Linked DNA regions of Homo sapiens: all the other regions are linked to region 2. Evidence: promoter capture Hi-C in 16 types of primary human blood cells and fetal thymus (Javierre and others, 2016). All regions are on one chromosome and are shown on one strand. The core of a region is centred on a gene start or on the middle of the fragment in contact, and the rest is flanking DNA. Distances in the headings are between cores, read along the strand shown. Region 1 overlaps SNX12 (sorting nexin 12). Region 2 holds the start of CXCR3 (C-X-C motif chemokine receptor 3). Region 3 overlaps FOXO4 (forkhead box O4).

The links. The method cuts DNA at HindIII sites, captures the fragments that hold promoters and counts their contacts. A CHiCAGO score of 5 or more calls a contact.
Region 1: a contact is called between a fragment that was not itself captured here and the fragment with the promoter of CXCR3 in region 2, in 1 of 17 cell types (naive B cells). The highest score is 5.9, in naive B cells.
Region 3: a contact is called between a fragment that was not itself captured here and the fragment with the promoter of CXCR3 in region 2, in 1 of 17 cell types (naive CD8 T cells). The highest score is 7.3, in naive CD8 T cells.

What each region holds. Positions count from the first base shown.
Region 1 is chrX:71,057,587-71,061,712 of GRCh38, reverse strand. It overlaps SNX12 (sorting nexin 12), which reads left to right. Exons shown (of 4, transcript NM_013346.4): 4 at 595-2,466. The coding sequence ends at 697. Among named protein-coding and RNA genes, the nearest start is that of SNX12, 8.7 kb to the left of the region's middle. The HindIII fragment of the contact is 1,579 bases long and covers 1,172-2,750 here.
Region 2 is chrX:71,616,489-71,620,198 of GRCh38, reverse strand. It overlaps CXCR3 (C-X-C motif chemokine receptor 3), which reads left to right and starts at 1,688. Exons shown (of 2, transcript NM_001504.2): 1 at 1,688-1,761; 2 at 2,740-3,710. The coding sequence starts at 1,750. RefSeq lists an enhancer at 3,689-3,710. The HindIII fragment of the contact is 3,713 bases long and covers 1,536-3,710 here.
Region 3 is chrX:71,099,424-71,103,065 of GRCh38, reverse strand. It overlaps FOXO4 (forkhead box O4), which reads right to left. Exons shown (of 3, transcript NM_005938.4): 2 at 1,326-2,382; 3 at 1-989. The coding sequence ends at 982. Among named protein-coding and RNA genes, the nearest start is that of FOXO4, 5.4 kb to the right of the region's middle. RefSeq lists enhancers at 1,698-1,747, 2,034-2,644. The HindIII fragment of the contact is 2,380 bases long and covers 970-3,349 here.

The sequences.
Region 1 (4,126 bases), core at 712-3,211, 560 kb after region 2:
CACCTAGGCTGGAGTGCAATGGTGTGATCTCGGCTCACTGCAACCTCCGTCTCCTGGGTTCAAGTGATTCTCCTGCCTCAGCCTCCTGAGTAACAGGGATTACAGGCGCCGGCCACCATGCCCAGCTAATTTTCATGTTTTTAGTAGCGATGGGGTTTCACCATGTTGGCCAGACTGGTCTCGAACTCCTGACCTTAAGTGATCCACCTGCCTTGGCCTCCCAAAGTGTTGGGATTACAGGCGTGAGCCACCGCACCCAGCTCACCTTTTATAATGGGTACCATGATGTGGTGCCAATTGTGTGGTGGGCTGACTGGACAGTAAAACTCCATTCCTTTGAGTAGGATTCTGATCCTGTGTGTCAGGGCCTGAGAAAGCACTGCATGTTGGTTATATCTAGGGATTTCCCTGTCTTGCCCCTCTATCCCCCGTCCCCTTTACAATATTAGGGTTGAGGTGGTACCCTACTGCTGTCCTCTACTGGCTTGAACCTCAGGGCTGACCTTGCCCTTCTTCCCCTGTCCACATCCCCATCCCTCTGCTAATTCTCTCTGATTCTGAATACTACTGATAACCATCCTGGTTTCTTTATAGAATTGCTGGGCACCCACTGGCTCAGAATGAACGCTGCCTACACATGTTCCTGCAAGAGGAGGCAATTGACAGGAACTACGTCCCGGGGAAGGTGCGCCAGTAGGAGCCCCTCTCACCACCTGCCCTCTACTTTCCTGCTGAAATGACATTGGTTTTTACACTAAGCCTCTCTCTGTCTTTGATCTGAAGTTGGCTGCCCATCTCCTGGCCTGATAGACTGTCTGGCATTGTGCTCCCTGGTACCTGACTACACCATGTGGGCACTCTGCTAGGATCCTCTTCTCTGAGGAGAGGTGGGAACCCACAGGCAGATGCCCTTTGCTTGGGGTTGGGGTGGGTGGGTGGGGGGATTAGACTGGAAGGCAATTTCTTGGGCATTTACCCATGCCAGAAGGCTAACCTGGGGGGAGGGGGGCGCTTGTGCTGGTGAGGCACTTGGATACATACTGATGCTGCAAGTTCAGGGGATTTTTCTTACTCTTAGGTTTAACCAAGAACACTGAGCAGGGAAAAACCCTGCCTTTCCTAACTGCATGTATTTTTTCCTTTTTGGAAAGGTGGTAGAGACTCAGAAGCTTTCCTTGTTTTCTTCAGGCCTGCTCCCAGTTTTCTTAACAGTTTCTTTTGTTGCTTTCTCTCTCCCTTGTTGCTTTCCATGGCAGTAATCCTCCTAGAGTCCAAGCAGTCTGTTGTATGGAGCAGGGTGTGTGGGTTTTCTGGGCCCATCATTATGGCTGCTTCAGAGTCAGAAGAAAGCCATAGGGCAGTAGGGGAGCTCCTATTGCCTAGCCCCTCTCCCTTTGTGGCTCCCACTCTAGCTGCCTATTTTTGCTCATCAGCTGGTGAGTCAGTATGGGCCAGCAGTTCTCCCTCCCTAAGCCCTTGCTACTTTATGGGTTAGCTTTGCAGGTTTGGTGGCTTGAGGGGTGGGGGCAACTCACCACTGCCAGGTAACTCCCTGAAGGGTGGGAGTGGATTATCTTCTAGGCTCTTACCCGCGGTAGGGAAGGGCATCAACACTGTCTTCCTTCCATTCTCCTTTCCCCCATCCCATTTAGTGCTGCCACAGGGCAGAAGCACACAAACCAACCACACAGTCTCTGACTTCTCCTAAGCACTTTGAGTTGTTGAATGGGGCTCAGGGGCAAGAGTTTTTGCTGCCCTCCCCAGCGTGGTCACAGGGTTATTGAACTGCCTGCACTTGTTTCTCATGCAACTCCAGCATTTTCCCCAGAAGTTGAACTATGGATAGCAGCTTGGTATGGATTTCCTAAATCTTAACATTTGAAGCAGCTTCTTGAGGCTGGCAACTATCCTGGTTTCTGTCTTGGAGGGGGTGGTTTGTTTGCTGGGGCCCAACGTCTGTCCCAAGTGGTGGGGTGAGAGTAAGTTAACTTTGGTGCCAGGTGAGAGGTGGGGGCTCTTTGCTTAGACTCCCTATCATGGAAAGATTGGAGTTTTCTATGCAGGGCACTGTGGAAAAGGATTGCTGATTCTGACTGACCCTGATCAGAGAGATTAGGATTGTATTTTGACATAGGATTTGGAACCCATCTAAATGTTGAAGTTCCCTGAGACAGCTCTCCAGCTGCTGAGCCTGCGCCAGGGGCTAAGCAGCCCCTAATGAGAGGCTCTGCTCCCTTTCCCACCTCGCCAATGTTGTTGTTGCTGCCTTTTTGATTTGTATCCTCTGTTATAGACATTTTTTAAAAACGATTTCCTCTTTCATTGTGCACAAGTGCTGAGAGTCTGAGGCCCCATTTCTGCTGTGTATATATATCCTGACTCGGGGCTTTTATTCAGCAAACTGTTCATTCTTCTGTCAGACAATGTCATATTCAACTCTGTTCATATTAAACCACTGTGAAGCAAGCCTCTGTTTTCCTGCTTAAGTTGTAAATTTAGTATTCTTTAGTGTCTAGGATATGCTGGGTATTATGCAGAAATCATACAGTGTGGCCAGTGTCCTGAGGTAATGTTTTGCATTTAAATTTTTTTAGAAAGCAGAATCTTAACTTATCTTAATGATATTTACCTATCCTTTTTGCAACTCACAACTGACTTTGTCACAGAGGTAATGCATCTGCTTGCAGGAAGTAGCTGTAGGCTCAGTACCTGTTGTTTGAGTCAGATTTAGCAGATTTGGTTTTTAAGCTTGTGGGTTTGTGCTAATTTGGGCAGAATATATTTATTATATATGTGTGTGTGTATGTGTGTATGTGTGTGTCTGCATATGTAATACATGTACATAAACACACATGCATGTGTTCATCCTCTGACACACCCACACAACACCAACAAACATTTCTTCTATAGGCTTTTTATCTCAACTGACACTGTTTTTTTTCCCAAATAAATTTGACACAGGCAGAAAGGTGGGTGAACTCTCAGAACTTTTGGTGGGTGGATATTCATCTGACCAGTGAGCTCTGAAATGGTTTCCCTACACAGAGTGGGTTTTGGCAAGGGTTGGAATGAGGGGAGGTAGCAGTCTTGTCATTTAGAAAATCAAAGCTAGTTTTGATGTAGCTCAACATGGAAAGAAGGTACAGAAAGTGATGTGTTCAAAACATTAGCAAATTAAGGCTGAATGTGGTTGGCTCATGCCTGTAATCCCAGCATTTTGGGAGGCTGAGGCAGGAGGATTGCTTGAGCCCAGGAGGTTGAGACTAGCCTGGGCAACAGAGTGAGACACTGTCTCTACAAAAAATTTCAAAAGAAAAAAAAAAAGGAAATTAATGTTACTTAGCAGTATTTGGTTCTAAGTAGAAGAGTGGGGGCTGTGAGGAAGTTGAGGTTTTTGGTAGTTCATGAATGAGATGACTAAAAATATCTGAGGGGATAGGGAAGAATGGGTATTTCTGTGAAATAAAGGAAAGGAAGGGTAAAGAGAGATGCAACCTTCATAGGCAGCAGTGTTAGAGAATGAACTGCAGAATAAATAGAAAAGCAGCTATAAAATAAAGTGTTAACAAAAATTTGGACAGATGACAACTCATTTAACAAGTGCTAATAGTCTTCTGTGTGTCTGGTCCTATGCTAACAGCAGGGCTGGGGATAGGGTGGAGTGGTTGTGGTACAAGTAAAATATGATATTACATTCTCTTTTTTCGTAGACCTTAAGAGTTCAGTTGAAGAGATGTTTAGCTGGGCGTGGTGGCTTATGCCTGTAATCCCAGCACTTTGGGAGGATTGCTTGAGCCCAGGAGTTGGAGACTAGCCTGGGCAACCGAGTGAGATCTCATCTCTACAAAAAAAAAAAAAAAAAAAAATTAAAAATCTGGCCAGGTATGGTGGCACATGATAGTCCCAGCTACTTGGGAGGCTGAAGCCGGAGGATTGCTTGAGCCCAGGAGGTTGTGGAGTGAGCCATGCAGTGAGCCATGATTGTACCACTGCACTCCAGCCTCAAAACAAAATGAAGAGATGTCTATACAAGGCAGGAAAATGCTAGAGACAGAGTAAGAGATTCAGGCACATCTGGTTAGTTGTCCAGTCTTTTTCTTTTTTAAAAATATCAGGCCAGGTAAAT
Region 2 (3,710 bases), core at 439-2,938:
GGTGTAAATTTAATTCCAGGCCCTAGCCTGGAGGCTTTGGTGGGGCAGTCTGGCTGAAAACTGGCCCCAAGACCATGGGCTAGCACTTGCTTTTCTCTCTCTCTCTCTTCTCTCTTCTCTCTTCTTTCTCTCTCTCCCTCCACCCCTGCTTTCCAACTAGGGGAGAGAGAGAAAGAGGAAACTGCTTGGGAGAAGCAAATTACGGGCAGCCTTGCCCACTGGTAATGAGAAGAGGGCGACAGGGAGGGGAGAAGAGGGCAAAGGGGAGAGCTGAGGGCAGGTGGGGAGAGGAATTGTTCACCATTCTCTGCCATAAAGTGACTGATGTGCTGTACCAAGGCTGCCTTACAGCTTTTCCTTAAGATCAAGAAGTTCCTATGGCCTCCTCCCCAACCCCATCCTCCTTCTTGCCCGAGAAGCAACTGCTTTTATGAATTTGTGGTATCTCCTGTCCCTGTTTTAAACCTCGAGAACCAACAGTGTTATCCAAAACAACATGGTATTGATTTTGTGGTGGTTTTTAGAGTTTATGTAAGTGGCATCAAACTATACATGGCATTCTGTAACTTGCTTCTTCTACCATGTGATCGTTGGCTTTTCTAGATGCATCCATGTTCAAATGTGTAGCTTTAGTTCATTTGTTTTTAACTGCATGAATATATCATAGCTTATTCACTTAAAAGAAACTGAAGACAGTGTTCATGAGTAGGAAAAGGAGAATCAGACAGCCGTGGGATCAATCCTCACGCCCACCTTTAATTGCCGTGTCTGGCGAAGGCCTGTCCCCTTTCTGAATCATCCATGCAGATAACCCCGCACGTCACAAGTGAGTTGTGTGGTTGAAATAAGGCAGTGTCGGAGAAAGCACCTAAAGCAATGTCTATCACATAGCAAGTTCATTACTGGTAGTTCCCTTTCTTTTTCCCCACTGATTAGCAGGGAGAGGTGGTGGTAAAAAGCTAGATTTAGTGTAACGGCTTTTTAAAAAAATATTTTAATTCCCTTTTTAAGAGACAGGGCCTCACTCTGTCACCAGGCTGGAGTGCAGTGGTACAATTATATCTCAAGGCAGACTTGAACTCCCGGGCTCAAGCAATCCTCCTGTCTCAGGCTTCCAAGTAGTTAGGACTACAGGCACATGCCACCATGCCCGGCTGGCTTTTTTTATTTTTGGTAGAGATGGAGCCTCGCTATGCTGCCCAGGCTGGTCTCAAACTCTTGGCCTTAAGTGATCCTCTTGCCTCAGCCTCCCCAGTAGCTGGGATTACAGGAATGAGCCACTGCACCTAGCTGAAATTTTTAAGAAGGTGGATCTCCTCTGCAGACTTATTTCTCTACCCAGCCTTTACAATCATGCAAAGATCAACTCAAGGCCAGGACAGATGAGTTCCAATCTATGGAGCACTGACCCTACCAGTGCAGGCAGTAGGGTTGCCCTTCACTTCTCAGCTGCATTGCTTCCTCTTCAGACCTCTCTTCTCAAAGGACCTGCCCCCAGCCAGTCATCCTCTGCCCAGCTTTTCTGGTCCCAAGCTTGTAGCCAGCTCCTCCAGAGAGGTTTCACCCAGTCACGGAAACTCTGTGGCCTGAGGTTTAGGGAGGTCTGGTAGAGGTAACTCCCTGGAAGAGGCTGCTGCTGAGAACTGCCTGAAACTCCCACTTCCTCTGTGACTGCAGGTTTCCAACCACAAGCACCAAAGCAGAGGGGCAGGCAGCACACCACCCAGCAGCCAGAGCACCAGCCCAGCCATGGTCCTTGAGGTAAGTGCTGCTGCCCAGCCAGGCCAGGCCAGAATTCGAAGTGGAAAACCCGGGGCATCAGGGGAATGCCAGGGCTGGCCCACAGCCCAGGGTCACCACAGGGTTGGGTGAGTAGCTGGAGGCCGCATGGGTTGTGGCAGAAACAGCACTGGGGAATTGGGAACCCAGCTTGGCCACTGACCCTGGGTGCCTCTCCTCTCCTCTCTGGCTTCGGTGTCTCGTCTGCAAAATGGGGGGGGCGGGGGGCAAGTAGACTCGAAGGCTCCCTTCAGGAGACTTGGAACTTTGACTCTTGGCGTGCTGGACTAAATTGGTACTGGGGAGACCTGCAGGTCCATAGTGCTGGGGGTGAGGGGATAAAGAAGATTCCTTCTCAAGCTAAGTGGGGGATCCCCTTGTGGGCAGCTAAATGGCCGTGCAAGCCTCAGTGTAGGGAGGGGGAAGGACTGGGCAGACTGCATGCATTTGGGGGGCGTGGTGACTTGTAGAGAGGCCACACGGTGGGGGGGGGCGCAGGAAGTTGGGGTCCCCGGACAAGGGCCAAGGAGGGAAGAGGAGGGTTAGTGACTGGAAAAGGGGATTGTGGAGAGGCGCTGGGGAGGAAGGTGGTTGAACTATGTGTTGGGGGTGGGGCACTGAGGACGCAAGGCAAGCCTGAAGGGAGAGCAGGGAGAGAGAGGACAGTGGGCAGAGAGGGCTCTGGGCACTGGAGGGACGCTCTTCTTCCTGCCCAGGGGTCCCTGGGCCGATGGGATCACGCAGAAGAATGCGAGAGAAGCAGCCTTTGAGAAGGGAAGTCACTATCCCAGAGCCCAGGCTGAGCGGATGGAGTTGAGGAAGTACGGCCCTGGAAGACTGGCGGGGACAGTTATAGGAGGAGCTGCTCAGAGTAAATCACAGACTAAATCAGACTCAATCACAAAAGAGTTCCTGCCAGGCCTTTACACAGCCCCTTCCTCCCCGTTCCCGCCCTCACAGGTGAGTGACCACCAAGTGCTAAATGACGCCGAGGTTGCCGCCCTCCTGGAGAACTTCAGCTCTTCCTATGACTATGGAGAAAACGAGAGTGACTCGTGCTGTACCTCCCCGCCCTGCCCACAGGACTTCAGCCTGAACTTCGACCGGGCCTTCCTGCCAGCCCTCTACAGCCTCCTCTTTCTGCTGGGGCTGCTGGGCAACGGCGCGGTGGCAGCCGTGCTGCTGAGCCGGCGGACAGCCCTGAGCAGCACCGACACCTTCCTGCTCCACCTAGCTGTAGCAGACACGCTGCTGGTGCTGACACTGCCGCTCTGGGCAGTGGACGCTGCCGTCCAGTGGGTCTTTGGCTCTGGCCTCTGCAAAGTGGCAGGTGCCCTCTTCAACATCAACTTCTACGCAGGAGCCCTCCTGCTGGCCTGCATCAGCTTTGACCGCTACCTGAACATAGTTCATGCCACCCAGCTCTACCGCCGGGGGCCCCCGGCCCGCGTGACCCTCACCTGCCTGGCTGTCTGGGGGCTCTGCCTGCTTTTCGCCCTCCCAGACTTCATCTTCCTGTCGGCCCACCACGACGAGCGCCTCAACGCCACCCACTGCCAATACAACTTCCCACAGGTGGGCCGCACGGCTCTGCGGGTGCTGCAGCTGGTGGCTGGCTTTCTGCTGCCCCTGCTGGTCATGGCCTACTGCTATGCCCACATCCTGGCCGTGCTGCTGGTTTCCAGGGGCCAGCGGCGCCTGCGGGCCATGCGGCTGGTGGTGGTGGTCGTGGTGGCCTTTGCCCTCTGCTGGACCCCCTATCACCTGGTGGTGCTGGTGGACATCCTCATGGACCTGGGCGCTTTGGCCCGCAACTGTGGCCGAGAAAGCAGGGTAGACGTGGCCAAGTCGGTCACCTCAGGCCTGGGCTACATGCACTGCTGCCTCAACCCGCTGCTCTATGCCTTTGTAGGGGTCAAGTTCCGGGAGCG
Region 3 (3,642 bases), core at 910-3,409, 520 kb after region 2:
CCAGTCCCTTCCCTGGCCCCAAGCTAATTCCAGGCCTTCAATGTACTCTCCCACCATAGCACTAACCCATGCTGGGTCATAGAAGAGTGTGGCTGCACCCTAACACCACACACTCCCAGGCACAAGTTGAAGGAATGAGGGGACCTGGGTTAGCTTTTTTGTTAGGGAAACTCTAACCTATTTCTGCATAGACCTTTCTCTATACCTGGTCCGTAGGGGAGCTCTTCCCTGTGTTTACTATTACTCCCCACCTCTCCCCACTTCCCTGTGTCTCCTAATATTTATTGTCTGTAGTGTTTGTATCATGTCACTATCACAAAGCCTTCAGAAAGAAAAAAAAGCATTCTGCCCACCACTAGCACCCTGCCATGGTTAAAAAATCTCTATATTTGTGTTTATATTTCTTTAAAAGTTTATAAAAAGCCTTTCTGTTATCTGCAGCCTTCTAAGGGTGATTTGGCCTGGCGAGCCACTCCAGTGCTCAGACCTTGGCCCTTCCAGATCCCCTAAACAGCCCACCCACCGCACATCACTGGCCTAAGGGGCCACTGCATAGAAATCCCAGGCTCCAGCTAGCCTGGCTCAGCTCAGATAAGACTCTCTACAAAAAAATCCTGCTCCCAAAGGCAGGGGTAAGGCCACTGGTGACTTCACATTTCCAACAGCATTGCTCATCTTGCTACAAAGCCTAAGTGGGTAGGAATGGGGAAAGCCGATGATGGCTCCTGAGAGGGGGCCTTACCCCCTAATTGGCACAGTGAGAAAAACCCTCTCCCCTTTCCCCTCCCATCTCCCTCCCCATATCGTCCCCAGATGGGGCAGCTTTATCTTTATAATTTCTTCAACACCTGTGTGTGACCAGACCCCACCCTAGCTCTAAAGCAGGGTCCCAAATTCCTGGGGAGGGCTCAAGGGTAAAGAGTAGATATGAACACGCCTGGCTCCACATCTGAAGCAGGGGACAAAGCTTCCAGGCATGACTCAGGGATCTGTGGGAAGAAGAAACAGAGAACAAGGTAAGAGGCTTACCTGGGGCTTGCCAACATTCTATCATCCAGATTCCCACCAAAGAAGATGGTGGCACCTAACCCGCTTCCATACACATACCTTTTCTGTGCTACCTTGCAGGGCTGGGCACAGCTAAGGGGCCTGGAGGTCCCATCCGGAAACTATGCTACTGTAATATGACATCTTCCCTCCAGTTCCCCAGGAGCTCTGGCTACCACTTGTCCTAAATCTCCCCTTCGCCCAGATCATGGGACTAGCTGGGCACCTAGGAGTGGTAATAGGCTATGAGGTGCTGTGGTGATTAGGGGGTACTGTACCTGGCTCAAAGTTGAAGTCCAGTCCCTCGCCCTCATCCATGAGGTCACTGATGATGTTATCCATGTCACACTCCAGGTTCTCCATATACATATCAAGATCTAGATCCTGAGGCATTCTGTCTTGGCTTGCAGCTTCAGTAGGGGGTGTGAGCACAGGAGTCCCCAGAGCCTTGGGGATGGGGGCACTTGCCATGACTGGAGGTGGTGCTATCATAGAAAGGGTGGGAACCAGACTGCTGGGGCCTGGAGCCTCTAGGGGCTTGGGACACAGGCCGACGCCCGTGGCCAGCTTACTGGAGGAAGGAAGCCCCCCCAGCAACAGAAGAGTCGGAGCCTGGGACAGAATGGGATCTACCTGGGTCATGAGGACGTCAGCAGGGGGTGGTGGCGTATCAGAGGTGAGCAGGGCCTCCAGAGCCTGGGAGCTGGAGAAGCACCCTTCTCCTGCTGACAGGGGCCCCTCTGCTGGGCTGAAAAGGGAGCTGCTGTAGGTGTGTAAGGGGCCGGTAACCCCAGGATGCTGCAAAGAGAAGCCAGAGAGACCACTCCGAGATAGCAGGGAATGGGAAGAGGTGAGATTGAGCCCATCTAACAGCTCTAGACCTTCATTGAGGGTGGGAGGGACACCCCCTGCATAACTGCTGACTGAAGCTGGTATTTCCTCCGCCAGCACCTCAGACTCTGGCCTCAAGGGGGACAGCCGGGTGCTGACACTGCTGGCATTTGAACTGCTTCGTGGACGGAAGGTGGTCCACATATCGGCTTCTTCACGGTTTCGAGAGCAAGGGCTGCCTGACCACTTGGCAAAGTGGCCGACAGGGCTCGTTGGAGTGGCACCTTCGGGTGGAGCTGGCAGCACAGATGGTTTCTTCTTGGGGGCTTTACTGCGGCCCCGGAGCAGCTTGCTGCTGCTATCCATGGAGGCGGCCCGGCGGCGGGGGGCTTTGCCGCTCTTGCCTCCCTCAGGGTTCAGCATCCACCAAGAGCTTTTGCCGGTGGCCTCGTTGTGAACCTTGATGAACTTGCTGTGCAGGGACAGGTTGTGGCGGATCGAGTTCTGGAGGGGCAGAGATGGCAGGAAAGGGGCGTGAGGTACTGTAGGGGAGGTCAGTGGCCAGCGGTCAAGTCTAAGAGGATGCTGGACCCTGATGATCTAGGGTTTAGGATTTGGTGCCACCACCGCAGCAGGGTTCATTTCGGGGCTTCATTTCCCAGGTCATTAAAGTTTAAGAAAAACTTTAAATAATTTACAAAAAAAGAGAAAAAGATAAAAGATAAAAGGGTGCTGGAACACAGCAGGGGTATTCCTGGAGACTCAAAGAAAGTTGAATCCAGGGGGGAAAACTGGTAGAAGTAGGGGTGGGGGTGGGGTGTGAGGGGAGACCACACACATTTCCCGCTCCCAGACAAGCTGCTCAGCCTCTGCTCCAGACTTCTCTGTACAGCGGGTGGGAGATAACGTGTAATAATCCACTGCAGAGAGCACGGGGGATGCCCACCCTGGAAAAGCTCCTGGTACTCTGCTCTTCCCAGGGCTTCGTGTGTGTTTTGCGGGGGGTGGGGGGAGCGGTACCTGGGGCTGGTGGGCACTGGGGAGACGTGCTCCTTGCCCAGCAAGAACTAGGTTCAGGTGGGAAAGAGCATTGCACCCCTTTCCTTGAGTGCAGGTTTGGGTAGAGTTTACGGGACAGTGGTACAGCACCAGCCCAGGATGGACCCGCCCTGCCCAGAGCCAGTTCTCTGAATAGGCTGAAGGGCTGGAATCTCAGCACAGCAGGTGCTCCATTCCCCACAGAGCATTTGGGCCACCCAGCTCTCTATAGAATTTAAAGATTCCTTTTTCCCCCCTCCCTGAATCCCAGCCTTATTTCTTCCAATCCACAACACACATCCTCAACTACATTCAGTTCAGGTTCAGGCTTCCTGCTGTGCCTCAAATGCGTGAGGTGCAATCTTCCCCTCCCCTCTTTTCCGAGGAGGGATCTCCCCTCTCTAAGTTTTACTAGTTCCGTCAAGACCAAGCTTCAGTTCCACCTCTTTTATAAAGCGGCTGCTTGACTTTGGCAGCCAAATTTCTAGTATAGTATTTTTAAAATCTGCGCCACACAATTTCACCCAATTTATATTGTGTGGCTTATGGTTTCATGTAATTCGTCTCATCGAGTGTAAGTGCCAAGTGTAATGTCCTCCAGTCCCACATCCCCCATCAAAGCCCTCCCAGAGCACCAAGCTCACAGCACATATTCTATACCTACTCAAGCTCACAGTACATAATCAATATTTGTACCTGATTGGTGGGTTGCCCCTGGGTTGACAA